Linked DNA regions of Homo sapiens: region 1 is linked to region 2. The links are contacts of gene promoters, found by promoter capture Hi-C in blood cells and fetal thymus (Javierre and others, 2016). All regions are on one chromosome and are shown on one strand. Each heading gives the region's core, a stretch centred on a gene start or on the middle of the fragment in contact. The rest is flanking DNA. Distances are from core to core; before and after follow the strand shown. Region 1 overlaps VDAC3 (voltage dependent anion channel 3). Region 2 holds the start of SMIM19 (small integral membrane protein 19).

Region 1 (3,202 bases), core at 115-2,614, 140 kb after region 2:
AACAGTGCCCTGTACATAGTGGGCACTTGACTATATCTAATAGATTTTCTCCTTGAAAACATGAGAACATTTTAGAAAAATTTTTCTGTCAAGCCAATTTTTCAACAATTACAAAACTAAACCAAATTTCCGCAAATAGTTTGTTCTACCCAGGAGAAGCTTAGCTGTGTAACAGAGAACCAGTCAGAACAAAGATGTAATATAGTAATTAGAGTACTCACAAACAAAGCCTTATTTTCTAGAAACATAAGACATCAAAAAAGGCCACATGCAGAGAAAAAATATGGCTACTAGATAGGTTGTAAGATCTCTTTTGATTATATTTGGGGTATGTTCATCATTCAATCTACAAGATAAATTGAACCTATGAATAACTTCTAATGCGTTCTCTTACCTTATTCTCCCAAGAGATTTCTGTCCCTAGAGTATTGTCTGTGTTCCATTTCTGGGTGAAGGTAAGTCCATAGTTACAGACCTTATATTTGGTTTCTAGGTTGCCTGATGCTTTCCCTGTATCAGTGTAAGCATGACCAGAAGTAGAAAATTCCTGGTAAGCAAGAAAAAATAATTACTTTAAAATTAGCTCATCAAATAGAAAATATTCACTTTGGAAAGCAGTGTTCAATGTATCAAAAACAATACCATTTACTGCTTGCCACAGCCCTACTCTAGAGCAACTTCTTTCCTCCTTTCCCCTTGCTTTTCCAGTCCCTAAATATTTTAACCAGTTCTGCCAGGCGCAGTGGCTCATGCCTGTAATCCCAGCATGTTACGAGGCCAAGGCGGGTGGATCCCTTGAGTCCAGGAGCTCAAGACCAGCCTGCGCAACATGGCAAAACCCCATCTCTACAAAAAATACAAAAAATTAGCCAGGCATGATGGCACGTGACTGTAGTCCCAGCCTGAGCCCAGGAGGCAGAGGTTGCAGTGAGCCGAGATCATGCCACTTCACCCTAGCCTGGGCAACGGAGTGAGACAGCTCAATACCAGTTTCAGATCTTTCCATTACTCTACTTCTCTTATTAATATCTCTTGTTCCATATACTCTCTTACCAAATGGTAATCCTAAATTCTCTCCTTTAAAAAAGAAGTATCTTTACTGAAAACAAATGCCTTTACTAAAAAGACCAAAAATATTGTATCTTAAACATTTTACTTTCATGACCTAAAAAAAGATTATCAGTTCTCTGCTATATGTTTCAAACTATCAGTTAATTTCAAGGTCCTTAAAAATCCCAAAATACTGCCCTCCTCCTTTTTAATAGGGTCAACACTTTACTACTTCCTTTTAAAAATGTTTTTTTTTATTGTGGTAAATACATGTAACATACATTTTACCATTTTAATAATGTTTTAAGTGTACAGTGAAGTGGCATTAAGTACAGTCACACTGCTGTGAAAACTTTAATGCTTTTGTGTGCAAAACTGCAAAACTTCTGCTTAGACAATTTCAATATTTGAAAGTACTACCCATTTTTCAAAATAAAGTAGAATGCTATAATTTATCCTTCTTTCCCCCTTTCTATCCTGTCTACCTTTAAGAGTGCTTTCTATCAAACAGTTACTATGAATGAGACTCTGTCTCAAAAAAATAAAATAAAATAAAATACATCCTTTGCCCTAGTTCAGTGCCCTTTAAGTCATATGACAATAAGCAATTAGAAATGGACCTCCTTCTGGGGAAAGCAGACAGCACCTGTCACTGACAATCTATGAACTGTCAAGAAAAAACATTCTGATTGGTCCTGTTTTAGGGAGCATTTCTGAAATCCTGCCAACAGTAATGAGATGCTGCCAACCCTGACCAGTCTTTTTCACTGCCTGCAACATGAATCCTCTCCTTAACAAATGCCCTGTCCCCTAACTCTAGTTCTACAGGCAGATGAGACAACTGGGAAGTTATGTTCTGTTTATCAAACCACACAGAATGGTTTCAAAGAGAGTATCATGCTGCACATTTAGGGGAAGGCCTTAGTAAAAAAAAAATGATAACATGTTAATCATGTTTAACTGTTCACATAATTATTTTAACGTGACAATCATTTTTCTTTTAGTAGATCCAACTATCTAGTGTTTTATTTTTTACATTTACTTTTCACAAACTTGACAAGTATAACAAATGCAAATCTTAATTTTGGTGCTAGAAAAACCTTATGCACAAAATTAAGGTAGAGGGGTAGTCTACATTTCTCCCTTGTCAGCATCAATTCTTAGTTTGAAGGTCTGTCACGAATCTAAAATGCCACAGGTACAAATCTCAGAAAAAAAGGCTAGAATTGTTCTAAGTTGAGTTCCAGGCTCACGATTCACAGTTCAGTTTGTGTCTAATTTCATAATTTGGTCAAACAAGTGCAAAACACATTTATAACATGCATATAACATGCATATAGCTCTACATTAAATGCTTAGTAAGCAACAAAACAAACAAAAATGTTACTGTTAAGTAGATAGCATATGAGAAAAATATCAAGACACAATCTAAGAAATTTGGAACAATGATTGAAATTTATCCTAAATCAATACCAGAAACCAAAAGCAGCCATAAAAACAAGCATACGAATAAGCTTTTTTTTCTTACCATCTGAATGAATATTACCACACAACAGCAGCATGAAAGGGAGATAAAATTTTAGTTGATAATTTTTGCAACACAAACCTAATGAGCAAATTCTGGAACCTACACAAAATGAGAATGATTCTTCTATTTTAACAGAACTATATACACAGCGTGCCCATCTTAGTAAGGGAGGTGCATATATATTTATTTACTCCAGAGAAACCCAGGGAAAGAATGATGGTCACAAACCATGATTATACACAGTATCATTAGAATTCCACATGTCTTTGTCCTTCTAATTATACATTCAGAAATAAAATTTTCATGGGTTTGAATGGATAAATACCAAAAACGATGCAGCCAATGAGGAGAAATCAGAGTAAGGTAAATTAAAACTTAACCTACTTGCTGAGATTTATTAAATAAAAGCAATTTTTTCTGAGACGGAGTCTTGCACTGTTGCCCAGGCTGGATGGAGTACAGTGGCACGATCTCTGCTCACTGCAACCTCTGCCTCCTGGGTTCATGCCATTCTCCTGCCTCAGCCTCCCAAGTAGCCAGGACTACAGGCACCCGTCATCAGGTCTGGCTAATTTTTTTGTATTTTTAGTAGAGACGGGGTTTCACCATATTAGCCAGGATGGT
Region 2 (3,219 bases), core at 386-2,885:
CCTGCTGCGTGCTTACTGCATACCACCACAGCCTTCCTCTGGAATCTAAAGCAAGACACCATTTTTCACATTTTCCTGTAATGTAATGCTTGAACTATTTCAGTAAGGAGAGGCTAGGATGGGCTGAATTAAGTCTCAAGTAAACAAGAGTATATAAACTTGCCAATATATTACAACTAGGGGTTGGTTTTAGATTGACAAACTTTTAGGATGAGAACTACTTTTTTTTTTTTTTTTACAAAAACAGGGTCTCACTCTGTCACCCAGGCTGGAGGGCAGTGGTGCGATCTCGGCTCACTGCAGCCTCGACGTCCCAGAATCGAGGGATTCTCCTGCCTCAGCCTCCCAAGTAGTTGGGAATACAGGCAAGTGCCACCATGCCTGGGTAATTCTTATTTTTTTTTTTTTAAAGACGGGGGTGGGGTGGGGGTCGTCTCACTATACTGCCCAGGCTGGTCTCAAAACTCCTGAGCTCAGGCAATCCGCCCGCCTCAGCCTCCCAAAGTGCTGGGATTACAGGCGTGAGCCACCGTGCCCAGCCGAGAACTACTTTTTCTAGGGACTAGGTCACTGTATCATAAGCTTTAAAATCTGTGTCGTGATTTTGGGTTCCTGATGTCACGTCTAGGTGATTCTAAAATTGACCACCGCTTGTCATCGTGCCTTGAATGTTATCATTTTTGTCTCTCACTTAGAACTTTGTTACTTTGATACAAATTCACATTGGAACCACTTAGTTCCTAGAGTCCCTTACAACAAAATCCTCTGCATCAAAAAATGGGATTTCTTTCTCTCATCCCTCTGAAACACTAAAGGCTTGGTATTCTGAAGCCAAAGGGTACATACAAGCTCACAGGCCTTCACCCAACATCCAGGAAAGCAATTCACAGGTGCTGGGCAGTCCACAGAGTCACTGAATTATCCCAACAACCCTGCTGGGCGGCACTAAAGCTCCATTTTACAGGAGAAGAAACTGGGGTGGCGGCGGTGGTTATATAACTTGTCCAAAGCCACACAGGCCTGGGCGTGGAGGCGCGGGGCTGTTATACACACGACTCCCAAACCTGAACTCTTCCAGTCTTGGCCCCGATCCTGCGAGACCTGCTCCTTCCGGAAGAAAGTCAAGTGGAGCAGGGAGAAAATGTAATCCTCTCCCAGGAAGCAGCCCGGGTCCCAGGGCGGCGAGGCTCTAGGGACGTTTCCGCCGCCCGCAGGCTGCGCGTGATTCAGCCTCAACCCTCCCGCCGAGCCCCCGCCGCCCCGGCAGATGGGCCGCCGCAACTGGCCCGTGTGCGCTTCCGGAAGCGGGCGACTCGCAGCTCCACGCGACGCCGAGGGGCTCCGCGCCGGGACCGGGCGGGTGCTCGGAGTTTCGGGGACCGCACGGGACCGAGGGCAGGCGGGCGGCCACCCCCCTTACCCCCGCGTCCGGGGCGGGGCGGGCGGCGCGGGGCGGGGCCGGGTGACGCGGCCCCGCCGGGGACCGGGAGAAGCGGGGACGCGGGGCCACTCACGCTGCCGGCTCCGGAGGCGGCACGCGGCCAGCGCTGCTCCGCTCCGGGGCTCTTTACCCCGGAGTCGGGGCCGGGCGCGCGGGAAACGGTTACCGAGCGGACCTGGACGCCCTCTGCCTTCGTCATTTCCTGCCGGCCGGTCGGTTTCCGGATGAAACGAGGAGCCAGGTCTTTTTTTTTTTTTTTTCCTTTCCCCTTTTCAGTTTTTTGAGCCGGAGAGACGCAGCGGCGGCCCCAGTGCCGCCCCCGGGCGCGTGAGTGGAGCCGGGCTCCTTTCCCCTACCGCGCCGCGACCCCCGCCCGGGCTGCGCGCGCCGCCTCCCGCGAGCCCCCGGCCCGACTCCCGGGCTCCCGCGGGTGGGGGCCAGGGCTGGTCGGCGCCGGCGGGGCTCGCGGCGGCGGCGGGTTGCGTCCCCCGCGCCTGCTGGCCCACGTGGACCTGGCCGTCGCTTGCCGTGCGGCGCCTTTGCGAAAACTCGACGGAAGTGGCAGGGACCGGGCATTACCTGCGAGTGCCGGGCGCCTCCTGCTCCGCTGTGCGCGCTTGGGGTGGGACTCGGCGGGGGAGGGGTCGTGTACATTGTCCCACCAGGCGCAATGTAGCCGGGCGGCGCAGAGGATTTCTTTTTTGGTCTTGAGAGCATAGAGTCCCTTTTCATATTCACGTGTACTCTTAAGAAAGCGTCTGTTCTCCAAACTGGCTTTCCATTCTCCCCGTCCTAAATGGTGCGTGGCTGACACCGTAGTGTTTTCAAAACTGGATATGGCCAGGATGCTATAGCATTGTCAGTGTAAGTCCCTTTTGGGTATTTTTATTTAATTGTGTAGTGACTTGACAGAAGTGTTTCCCAGCTTGACCTAAGTAATGAATTTGCATAGGATTTCAGCATCAGTATGGAAGTGATCAGATGTCAGTGGCTGGTGCCACCTTGCAGATAAATGGCCACTGGTCCACGTAGTTCGTCTTTACTATACATTTTGATTAAGTTCTCTAGGACCAGCTGACTGGTAATTATAAGTCACATGAAACCCTGCAGAGATGAGAGCTTACATTGAACACTTCTTAACAAGTTTTCTATTCTTTGTTTCATCTGTTACAATTAAACTCACCTTCGTCTAGGGTAAGACCATTACTTTACGCAATAACATACTAGCTTAATTTACGGTATTTATATGTATTTATATATATTGTATATACATAATCATACATATAATTCTATAACATTTAGTTTGACTCTAAAGTTGGAAAATCAGGAAAATAACAGGTGATGTTGAGTACTGATTGTTTGCCGGGCCTGTGCCAAATGGTGTGCATGCTTTATGTAACTTAATCTAAAAAAATTTGAATACGTGAGTTTGATTTCAGTGTGTCCAAATGTGAAACGTGTACATTATTGTTATTGTTTTGTTTTTTTTGAGACGGGGTTTTGCTCTCGTTCAGGCTGGAGTGCAATGGCACTGTCTTGGCTCACTGCAACCTCCGCCTCCCGGGTTCAAGCGATTCTCCTTCCTTAGCCTCCCAGGTAGCTGGGATTACAGGCGCCCGCCACCACGCCCAGCTAAGTTTTGTATTTTTAGTAGAGACGGAGTTTCACCATGTTGGCTAGGCTGGTCTCGAACTCCAGACCTCAGGTGTTCCGCCCGCCTCGGCCTCCCAAAGTGCTGGGATTACAGGCGTGAGCCACCGCGCCGGGCAAACGTGTGC

Evidence for each region. The method cuts DNA at HindIII sites, captures the fragments that hold promoters and counts their contacts. A CHiCAGO score of 5 or more calls a contact.
Region 1: a fragment that was not itself captured here is called in contact with the fragment with the promoter of SMIM19 in region 2 in 6 of 17 cell types (megakaryocytes, fetal thymus, M2 macrophages and 3 more); the score reaches 11.9 in megakaryocytes.

The regions. Positions count from the first base shown.
Region 1 is chr8:42,396,057-42,399,258 of GRCh38, reverse strand. It overlaps VDAC3 (voltage dependent anion channel 3), which reads right to left. Exons shown (of 10, transcript NM_005662.7): 5 at 395-547. Among named protein-coding and RNA genes, the nearest start is that of VDAC3, 5.8 kb to the right of the region's middle. The HindIII fragment of the contact is 2,405 bases long and covers 162-2,566 here.
Region 2 is chr8:42,540,001-42,543,219 of GRCh38, reverse strand. It overlaps SMIM19 (small integral membrane protein 19), which reads right to left and starts at 1,635. Exons shown (of 4, transcript NM_001135674.2): 1 at 847-1,635. It also overlaps a transcript of SLC20A2 not described here. RefSeq lists an enhancer at 1-54 and silencers at 1,215-1,634, 1,775-2,054. The HindIII fragment of the contact is 8,293 bases long and covers 585-3,219 here.